Linked DNA regions of Homo sapiens: region 2 is linked to region 1. The links are contacts of gene promoters, found by promoter capture Hi-C in blood cells and fetal thymus (Javierre and others, 2016). All regions are on one chromosome and are shown on one strand. The core of a region is centred on a gene start or on the middle of the fragment in contact, and the rest is flanking DNA. Distances in the headings are between cores, read along the strand shown. Region 1 overlaps PNRC2 (proline rich nuclear receptor coactivator 2). Region 2 holds the start of PITHD1 (PITH domain containing 1).

Evidence for each region. The method cuts DNA at HindIII sites, captures the fragments that hold promoters and counts their contacts. A CHiCAGO score of 5 or more calls a contact.
Region 2: a contact is called between the fragment with the promoter of PITHD1 here and a fragment that was not itself captured in region 1, in 2 of 17 cell types (total B cells and erythroblasts). The highest score is 5.5, in total B cells.

Annotation. Positions count from the first base shown.
Region 1 is chr1:23,962,425-23,967,930 of GRCh38, forward strand. It overlaps PNRC2 (proline rich nuclear receptor coactivator 2), which reads left to right. Exons shown (of 3, transcript NM_017761.4): 3 at 1-1,038. It overlaps SRSF10 (serine and arginine rich splicing factor 10), which reads right to left. Exons shown (of 6, transcript NM_054016.4): 6 at 1,923-5,506. Among named protein-coding and RNA genes, the nearest start is that of PNRC2, 5.4 kb to the left of the region's middle. The HindIII fragment of the contact is 773 bases long and covers 1,377-2,149 here.
Region 2 is chr1:23,775,189-23,780,694 of GRCh38, forward strand. PITHD1 (PITH domain containing 1) reads left to right here and starts at 3,230. Exons shown (of 6, transcript NM_020362.5): 1 at 3,230-3,525; 2 at 4,250-4,293; 3 at 4,676-4,753. The coding sequence starts at 3,328. It overlaps ELOA-AS1 (ELOA antisense RNA 1), which reads right to left and starts at 3,109. Exons shown (of 4, transcript NR_038280.1): 1 at 3,011-3,109. RefSeq lists enhancers at 1,954-2,906, 4,160-5,359 and silencers at 3,160-3,469, 3,560-3,609. The HindIII fragment of the contact is 11,008 bases long and covers 1,294-5,506 here.

The DNA of each region.
Region 1 (5,506 bases), core at 513-3,012:
TTATTAAATGTAGTGGATTAAGTGTCTGTCAACAAATACACCAAAACCATTTTTTATAGAAACAGTATTTAATGGTCACTCAATAGCTTTCAAAATACATTTTTGTATTACAGCACTGCACAAGCTATTCTAATAGTGCTCTGGCCTCATCATTCCTGCAAAGCTTGCTTTGGGGAGTTGGATAATGTGAAAATTTTAAGTACCTAGGGGAGAAAGAGCCATGTAAATATCTGTAATAAACTTGTAGCATATGTAAAGTTTTCTTGGCCTTTATCTTACAAAAATGGAGTATTTTAGTATGAATTTGCTGAATGTAAGACCGTGGACTGTTTTTTATAATATGGCCTAATTTTAAAGGTCCAAAATAACTTGTTTTTAAAGTTTGCCCTTGTGCTAAAGTGCCAGTGTATGTATGTTATACTTGATTTGGTTGTAAACTATATTTCAAAGTAAACCCTAGTGTAATAAGTTTTATAACTAAAAAGGTTTAAGCTGCTAAAACTATTTTTAAGAGATGTGAAATGCAGTATGGGACTATCTTTTTTTCCTCCTCTAAGCCCAAAGATTAACTAGAGTCCCTCCAACCTTATAGATTGTTGGCTTTCACAATCTTATAACCTAGGATACAGGTAGTTTCGAGTATGGTGCCAGTGATGTTTTGTTTTTGTTTGGTCAAGGGGTAGGTGCAACCCAATGGACCACTTATGCAAAAGATGTAAACTCTTGCATAATACATTGATAACATGTTTTGCCAACTTTAAATGCTTAAACATAAGCGAAACCAGTAGCAAGTATGTGGGTCAGCTTAAAAATTTTGATTGTTAATGCCCTATTTTCTAATTTGGCACCTCTTGATGCCTAAGCAGGTAAGCAGATGCCTAAGCTGTATTTCTCCAAATAAATCAAGATGAAGTACTGCCCAAGTTAAATATTGATAGCCTAAAGACAAGTTTATGTAGTACTTAATGTACATGATATGAATGTGAAGCATAAAATTAAATAAAATTTTTCCCCATTGGCTTGGTTTTATTTTAAAAATGGTTTTGATTGCTTAATATTCTTTTTAAAAATGTGTTTTACTTGTCACTGACTTGAAGCTCATAATACACTCACAATATTCCAAACTCTTGGATTTCTCAGACTCCAGAACTATGAACCACTACATTTCTGATCATATATATATACGTATATATAAAAAAGGTCACAACTAAAATGTGATAGGACTGTTGGCTTGAAAAGGGGCAACTAGTTTGCTGACTGATACAGAAGATACTAGGATTTGACAGCTATGCAGTTAAGCAACTACTTAGGATTTCTCTCTCCCAGTAGTGTTAATTAAAAAGCAAAAAAAAGGCCACACATGGAAAACATCGCAAAGCTTTTGAAAGTTAATTCCATGATCTAGGTTCATAGAAAAAAAATTATAAGCAAATTTATCAAGTTGACAAGAACCCTTGTGTTTTAAGTATGTTGACAAATGAAAAGTATATAAGGGGACCCCTCAGAAGAAAAGCATCACAACCACACCTTTCTGATACAGATTCCAAATGATAGGGCATCTTAAAACTAGTTTGAGTAATCCTTAAAATGCTACAACTAGTCCCATGGCAAAGCTGTATTATTTTCATGCAAACTAGTTAACAATTTGGAGTTAAGGCAGAACCAGCATTTGGGTGTTCATTTTGTTTCCAGGGTAATTTCTGTGAACAATGCCAAGGATTGCAGAATTGAACTTCATGTATTGGACAAATCTCAGCCTAGGTGTCTGTTAGTTTTTAAGCTATATATTGAATCTAGTGTATATATTGAATACACTAGATTTTTAGTGACTAATCTAGTAATACACTAGATTTTTGGTTTGACTCAAGCAAAATGAGTAAATGGAAGTGGGAGTGGAAGATTACCTAACTTCATACTTTAGGAAAGGTACTGATAAAAGTTTTGGTTAGCCTATATAGAGAATGGTGATAGGAATTTCCCAAGTCGATGCAATTGCGAGAACCAAAAATAGCTGGTACAGAGAACTTACCATGTAAGGCTGCTGAAGTCAGCCATACTGTGAACCTTAGGTAAATGCTGTAATTTCAATTTGTCTTCTTTTCGATGGCAGTTATACTATGATGGAATCCAGGTCCAAAACCTATCCTTAAGCTTAAAATAAATACTAATAAACTATCCTCTTCCCTAGAACTACAACACAGGAAAAAACCTGAAAGGTTTTGTGTAAGTTTCAGTTTCTAGTATTTTGGTTGCATTCTTGTAGGCAATTTGTAAAGCAAGAGGGACAGAGTGCATCTCTAAAACCTCTTACACAAATTAGGAAAAAGTTGTACCCAGGTGGTTACAAATCTAAGAGCAAAATCTTAAAAAAACCCAAGATTTATTTTTGGCTCCTAGACCAGTTTATTTCACTTTCCAGCATTCAAAGAAATGTGATCTGCAAAAAACTAGATACAAAGGCCTTTTACTTCTTTACAAACTACGGTTAGTTCTCAATGAATTTACATGCCTCACTTTTTATTCCAAGAAAAATCCCCATTATGCAATACAAGGGTGAAACAGCTGTTACAAATACACAGAAACATAATAAAGATAACCAACACTGTTAAGAGGAAGGGGAAGAGGAAAAAACCCAAGAGAAGGAAACTTTTCCACAGTGACTAGCAGAATGTCTTGTAGATAGCAATAACCGAAGACAAACAGGTTGCTCACTTCATCCTATTTATCAAGTCATCCTATCTAAAATGAGAATAGTTCATGCCTAGGATAGGCTAACTATAGGCTTTGCTAGTCCTCCTTCCTAATAGAATGCCCTCAGATTATTCCTGAGCTATCACTCAAGTCACAGATACTTCAGAATATAATCTTAGGTTTTGTAAACAGGAACATGGTCAAAATGCAATACAATGGAAAATCTCTACAAGAGAATGAGATTTGGAAAGCCATGCTTAGAGTCTCTGAGCCACACAACCATAAGATCTTCGAGTACGTTTAATCTCTCATCCAGGAACATTATCCATTTACCTTGTAAGGTTGTGAGAAATGAATAGCATAATATGCAAGAAGCTATCACATGATGGGTATTCTACAAAGGACAATTTTCTCATCTGTAAAATGGGAATAATACCCATTTCCCAGGAGTGTTTTTAGGATTAAATAGAAATATTTGAAAAGCACATGGTTCGGCACAGTAAGTGCTCAATAATATTGACAGCATTCAGTATAGAGAGAAACAACCACAGAAGAGATCCTAAAGCAATTCATTCAACAGATGCAAAAATTAAAGGGCCTTTTCTGATTTACCATAATTAAATATTTTAGAGAACTACCAACTGTTGTTATTGTAGTTATATATGTATTTACCTAATTTTTTTTAAACAAAACCCCAACTCAATATGCACCTTAATTCTCCCCCTTAAATGTCTTAACTTCAAAAGGAAATGGAGAAGGGAGGTAGAGGGCAAAAAAGTCTATAGCCTCTACATATTCTTTTAAAAATACATAGAACCTCTGTCCATAAGAACCCCTATGTTAATGAGTGTATAACGGTATACAACAAAATACTTTTTGTAATTAAATCTAGTCACTTTGACTCTAAGTAAATTCTAGATCCCATTATATCAATGTTACTATCTCCATGAAAATAAAGCTATAAAAACACTTCCCCATTGGATTAAACAACAAACATGGTAACAAAAGATGAAACAAGTGAAAAATTATGGGCTGTAACCTAGGATCTGACACTTGCTGTGTGATCTTGGGCAAGTTCAAACAAAATTTCTAAAATAAAATACAAACAATAATACCTCCATTTCACACCTCCCTTGAAAATATACCTCTGCTATATTTTCAAAATTGCTACAAATTAAAAGCTTAAATTCCACTTCCAGATTTTTAGTTAATTTTATATGGAAAATTTTAAGTATGTGGCAAAAAAGATGACAAAAATCAAATGTGATGAAATCAATGTATAGGTAAAGAAACATCATATCCTAATAAGAAACTAAGGAATCCAAAACATTTTGTGATACTATAAAAGTTATTTATTCGCTATACACAGAACATGTCCCCTATAAAATGTACATGTAAATCACTAAAAAGTATAATTTGGTGAACATTTTCTCAATTACAGAACATACTAAATCAGTTAGGATAACAGCTCTCTGTCTGCCTCAAAATAATCTAATTATAGCACCCAGTCTCCTTTATACCTAATGCAAAGTTAAATACTTATTTTGGGGGTTATATCCTAGCATGTGTTTGGTGAGGCAGAGTAAACAATTTATTATAACTCTAGTATATTACAGTCACTGCACAATAAACCAGTTTATTACAGATTAAATCATTTTTTCATTATTTATAATAATGTGATCAAATACTGGATACTTTTAAATGGCAGATAACCACACAATTACTTATCCTTGATCGTATATTGTGTTCTATAATTACATTGATACGAATGGTGTAAAATATTGTTATGAATAACACACCTCAAACAAAACAATGAGGCCATACTGTAATGATTCACTAGATTGTGCTCAGTAGACATTTACTGAATAAGGGAATTATCTATTTTTCTCAATTATCCAGTACAATGATTTGCCCACAGTAAGGGCTCAATAAATATTTGCTGAATATACTGACTAGGAAAGAGGTGAGAAGAGATGGGCCCTCTTAGCTGGATGTCAAATATAATTGGAATTTACCTGGGAAGGAGTAGTTAAGACAGATGTAAACTGCATGTGGTGTACAAGTAAATAAACACAGATGCCAACAAAGCAAATGATTAAGCAGAAAACACTGGCACCAAAATAAACAAAGGCAAGATTTGCCAATAATGGCAAAAATGGAACTTTTATATTGGACCATACCTTTTCCCACCCAATTCAGTTTGAGACAGACCAACAGAGGCACTGTAAGAGACTATGGCTGTCTTCCTTGATATTCAGACATCCTAGTTTCCAATAATTTATTATGGACCTGTTACCCATGAATCAATATAAACCTATTCATATTTAGGGATTAGTTTCCACAAGTACAAAGTTGAATTTCCTTTTATTTGTCCTAAAATGCTTACTTTCAAACTTGAAGGGACTTCAATTATTCCATGTAGTTTTCGATAACATTCTTTTATCTTTTCAGACCAGAGTCAAAATATTCGTACAGTATTCATACTGCAGCACCTTCCACCCACCCTTTGGTCGCTTGAACTGCCCTTCTTTGGTTCTTTTTCCGCTTTCAGATCTTTCTTGAAGTGTAGTAAGCAGAACTGTACTGGGTATTCCAGCTGCAGTTTGGTCTTAAATAAAAGAAGGATGTTTGTCAGTTTGGTTTCCTTTATTCTTCTCTGTGGTATACAGGATTTTGTTAGTTGAACTGGATGTAGCAGCTTACTGGGCCAAATTTTCAAGAGAATAATACAATAGTTCCCAGGTCTTTCCCCTGGGATGTAACTTAACAGCTCATACTCTATGTAGCACCTTTCCTCTCTCACTGAAGCATTATC
Region 2 (5,506 bases), core at 1,980-4,479, 190 kb before region 1:
GCCTGCCCAACATGGTGAAACCCCATCTCTACTAAAAATACAAAAATTAGCCAGGCGTGGTGGCAGGCGCCTGTAATCCCAGCTACTCGGAAGGCTGAGGCAGGAGAATCGCTTGAACCCGGGAGGGGGAGGTTGCAGTGAGCGGAGATTGTGCCACTGCACTCCAGCTTAGGTGACAGAGCAAGACTCCATCTCAAAAAAAAAAAAAAAAAAAAAAGTGCTTGTGCAATTGAGTCTTGCCCTCTCTTGCTCCTGGGAACTCTGCAATTATCACCATGTAATTTAGCTAGGCTTGTCTGCTGGAGACACGTGGTCCCATCATCCCAGCTAACAGCCAGCATCAAGCAGACGAGAGTGAGACCATCCCAAACTTTCCAGCCCAAGCTGAACTGGCCCAGAAAAGCTAATCCACAGGATCATGCGAATTAATCAATGTTTGTTGTTTAAAGCTATCAAAGTTTTAGGGTAATCTGTTACACAGCATAAGCTAATTGATACAGCATATTTACTTTGTGTGCACCTCCCGCCTCAACCTCCCCACCCTAACCAGGAAACTACTGATGTGTTACAAGAACACTACAGGATGTGTTCAAAGCCTGGTTACCTCCTAACTTTACCTAGTCTCAGACAAGTTAGTTTGCCTCTTTCAGCCTCAGTTTTCCTCATCTTCAAATTGGAGATAACAGTAGGTAATAGCACCTAGCTCTCTTTTTTTTTTTTTTGAGATGGAGTCTCGCTCTGTCGCTCAGGCTGGAGTGCAGTGGCACAATCTCGGCTCACTGCAACCTCTGCCTCCTGGGTTCAAGCGATTCTCCTGCCTCAGCCTCCCGAGTAGCTGGGATTACAGGCACACGCTACGATGCCTGGCTAATTTTTCTATTTTTAGTAGAGACGGGGTTTCACCATGCTGGCCAGGCTGGTCTCAAACTCCTGACCTCAAGTGATCTACCCGCCTCGGCCTCCCAAAGTGTTACAGGTGTGAGCCACCACACCTGGCTGTACCTAGCTCTTAAAGTTCATGTGACAATTAATTGAGATGAACTACATAATGTGCTTAGCACACAGTGCTCAAATAAATCATTAATGAAGGCAACAGGAAAAAGCCAAAATGAGTAGATCTCCGGGGTAAGGCCTGAGTTGGTTCTTCAAAAGGACACTCTTACCAAAGAAAGGCTACCAAGTATATCAGTCAAGTAAACATTTACTGTTTGCCACATTCCAGGTCCCTTACCTGAAACTGTGACCTAAAAGCAGGAATAATTCACGGCACTGAGCTATTTTGAAACAGAACCAAGCTTGCTTATTGCACAAGTAACTAAAATAGGACATCAAAATATTTTTCTTGTTTTTATTTTTTTGAGACAGTCTTGCTCTGACACCCAGGTTGGAGTGCAGTGGTATGATTACAGCTCACTACAGCCTCACCCTCCCAGGCTCAGGAGATCCTTCCACTTCAGCCTCCCAAATAGCTGGGACCACAGGCATGAGCCACCATGCTGGGCTAATATTTTTAATTATTTTTGTAAAGATGGGGTCTCCCTATGTTGCCCAGGCTAGTCTCAAACTCCTGGGCTCAAGTGATCCTCCCACCTTGGCCTCCCAAAAGTGCTGAGATTACAGGCATGAGGCACTGCATGTGGCCCAGAAAATATTTCTGAATGGAACTTGAAAAAATGGATATTTTGGTCTATACTTCACCAGCCCCACTGAGCACTCCAGAGCCAGATGTGAAGGGAAGAGGGTAGCCAGGGTATCCCATAACTCTCTTTCTGTATCCTGTCTTTTCCCCACCAGGGAGTAGGAAAACATTCTATCCTGAAAACAAGATTATTTCACCTCTAAACAGTGACTTTTAATTATTTTGATCTCAACCCACAATATGAAAAACACATCATATTGTGTCTGAATACAAACTCAAAACTGAAACAAAAGTTTCATCAATTGAGACTTGAAATGTGTGATACATTCTGGGTTTTTTTTTTTTTGTATTCTATTTTTTTTTTAAATGTTGATCACAATTCTCTATAAACGGATTTTAAAACCTATTGACAGGCCACAACCAGCTGTTCGAAAAAAAGTACTTTGAAATATCACATGGGGGAGGAAACGCAGAGATCATCTAGTCCAATCCCTTCACTTCACAGGGGGTAAACTGAGTCTCAGAAGATCAAGTCACTTGCCCAAGGCCACGCAGCTAGTAAGTTGCTGTGGTTGGATTTGACCGTAATAACCATCGGCTACTGAATGCCCATCATGTGTCAGCCATTTGCTGAGTTTTTTCTTTTTTTTTCTTTTTGAGACAGAGTCTTGCTCTGTCGCCAGGCTGGAGTGCAGTGGCGCGATGTCGGCTCACTGCAACCTCTGCCTCCCGGGTTCAAGCGATTCTCCTGCTTCAGCCTCCCGAGTAGCTGGGACTACAGGCTCGCGCCACCACGCCTAGCTAATTTTTGTATTTTTAGTAGAGACGGGGTTTCATCATGTTGGCTAGGATGGTCTCGATCTTTTGACCTCGTGATCCGCCCGCCTCGGCCTCCCAAAGTGCTGGGATTACAGGCGTGAGCCACCGCGCCCGGCCTGCTGAGTTCTTTAATTGCATTATTTCATTTAATACTCACTGTGATCCTATGAAACAGATACTATTCTTTCCACCTTACAGACGGGGAAACGGAGTCTCAGAATAGGGGAAATGACTTAAGGTGTCACAATGGCCAGTAGCAGACCCAGGAGTAGTCTTTAGGTCTGGCCGTGCACAAAGCCCCATGCTCTCAAGCTGTAACCCCGCTATCAAGAAAGTGGTTATGCAAGTGGGCCTGTGAGCTCTCAACGTCTAAGCCGTGCGCATGTGAGACAGCGATAAGCTCGCGTTCTCCAGTCTCCAGGGCCTTATCATTCCTCACGCTTTCCTTCATCGGCTCGCAAAGAAACGTGGCGATCAAGGAAGACAGCGAAGGCTCCATCCTCGTCGGGGGAGGATAATTCGAATCTCAGCCTGTGAGTTTACTCAGCACACCTGTTTAATCTCTTGGTCCTTCAGTTTCCACACCTAGGAAGCTGGAACAGCAGCAGCATCCAGCGCCAGGACTGGAGTCATATACGAACTCTGGCACCTGGGAGGCGCGCGTCCTACGTCAGTTCCGCTCGACCCCACCCCCCCCGCCCCCCCGCCTTCTCCCCACGCGCATGCGCCGCGCAGCGGCGCTTTTTACGACGCGGCAGGCGCGGCGCGCTTAGTTGCCGGAGCTGAACGGCGCGGAGCTGGTCTGAGGCGAGCCGAGCCGAGCGAGCGCGGCGGTGGGGCCGAGAGGACGCGCAGGTGGCGGCGTTGCCATGTCGCACGGTCACAGCCACGGCGGGGGTGGCTGCCGCTGCGCCGCCGAACGGGAGGAGCCGCCCGAGCAGCGCGGCCTGGCCTACGGCCTGTACCTGCGCATCGACCTGGAGCGGCTGCAATGCCTTAACGAGAGCCGCGAGGGCAGCGGCCGCGGCGTCTTCAAGCCGTGGGAGGAGCGGACCGACCGCTCCAAGGTGGGCCGCCTGGGGCTTGGGGCGGGCGGGGCAGGGTGCGTGTGGGGCCTCGGGCCGTCGGTCTACTCATTTCTGATGTTAAGAATAACGACAGCCTGGTTGCCAAGCGCTTTTCCGTGCCTGTCTCCTGCCAGCTCTTTGGGAGGCGAGCAGCGTTGTCTCCCCATTTTGCATATAGGGAAACTGAGGCCTAGAGGGAACGGGGACAGTTTTGTCAAGCTACACAGCCTAACGCTCTATTCCAGGGCTGTGTGGGCTAGAGAGGATGGTCGTGAGGGCCGTTGGACCATTGGTGCTAATGGCTGCCTCATCATATTACCTGGTGAAGATGAGCCTAGGGAGATGAAAGGTGGTTCCCATATAGAGCAAATGTTCTTTACATTGTGGGGTCGCAGGCCCCTTTGCTATCTGTTTGAAAGCAGTGGACCTTCTTCTCAGAAAAATGCACATAAACACCTGCCTTTCAGTTCACACTTCAGAAGGCTCTTCGACCCTGGAAATTCATTCATGGGCTTTTTGTTAAGAACCTTCCAGTTGGGTGGCCTGTGGCTGTTATGACACTGGATAAGACTGGTTAGCTTCAAGTTAATAAGTCTTGGAAAACCAAGGGAGAGTGACTCTTCCCATTGCACCCCAGTTGTAGAGCAGGGTGGGAGATGCCTGAAATTGTAGGCTCTCAGCAAATATTTGTTGCTTTCTCCTCCCCCCTCCCCATCCCCTCCAGTTTGTTGAAAGTGATGCAGATGAAGAGCTTCTGTTTAATATTCCGTAAGTATCTCCTTGGTGCCTACCTCAGGCTAAATAGGCTGTACCCAGTTGCCTCAGATGGATTCATTCACTGGTGTCAAGAGCACACATTTGCTTCTAGAAATGGGATAAATTACTTTGGTGGGTTTGAGGAGGAAAGCATCATAGCTTTCTTGGTGCAGACTGGAAACAGATGTATTTGTAGAACAATAACTGAGAAATTGAGGTAGATTTCTTAGAATTGTAGAATGCTAGAGGTAGACAGGATCTTAGAAATTATCTAGTACAAGTTGACAGATGAGTAAACTGAAGCCCATACAGGGGAAGGGTCTTGCCCAGGGTCACACAACTAAACAGGTATTCAAACTCAGGTTTGACAACCTTCTCTTTTGCATTCTGGCAGATTTACGGGCAATGTCAAGCTCAAAGGCATCATTATAATGGGAGAGGATGATGACTCACACCCCTCTGAGATGAGACTGTAAGTGGCAAAGGCTTAGGCCCTCAAAGGAGCTCCTAATTCTCTTTTTCTGGTAACATTTTATTCCAGAATAGTATCATTTTCTTCTTACCGGGTTTAATATTTCCCCTTTTAAAATATCTTGGTCCTGTTCTCATTCTGCATTGGAATACATATATTTCTTCCTGAATTAATGACTTTTTTAGATTAAGCATCTTTAGGCCCAACAGCGTGTCTCATATTTCAAAGTGCTTACTATGACATGATTCATTCAGAGAGCATTGTGTAAATGTCACTTGTTGATGACTCTGCAGTTTTCTTAATAACTAGCTGCAGATCTCATATGATCTTTATGGATTCTAGGGGTTAGCTTCAACATTTTTCCTTGCTATTTCATACAGTAATGATCTTATGTGTTTTGTTGACATGGAATTGCTCCACCTGACTTTGCGTGGCATTTAGTTAGCAAAGTTGTGTATACCTCTTGCAACACTGAATCTTTTGCCACCAGAGCTAGTACCCTTTTTGACAACTTACCTTATTCCAGAACAGCCTTCCTAAAAGAAGGGGAAAACTGCTTTCTGAGTGCTGGAGAAACATATAAGAAGAACTTTACATTTAAAAAATTCAGTCCGGGTGCAGTAGCTTATCTCACAAAACCAATAAAAGATGATATATAGGCTGGGCACAGTGGCTTACACTTGTAATCCCAGCACTTTGGGAGGCTGAGGCGGGCGGATCACCTGAGGTTCGAGACCAGCCTGGCCAACCTGG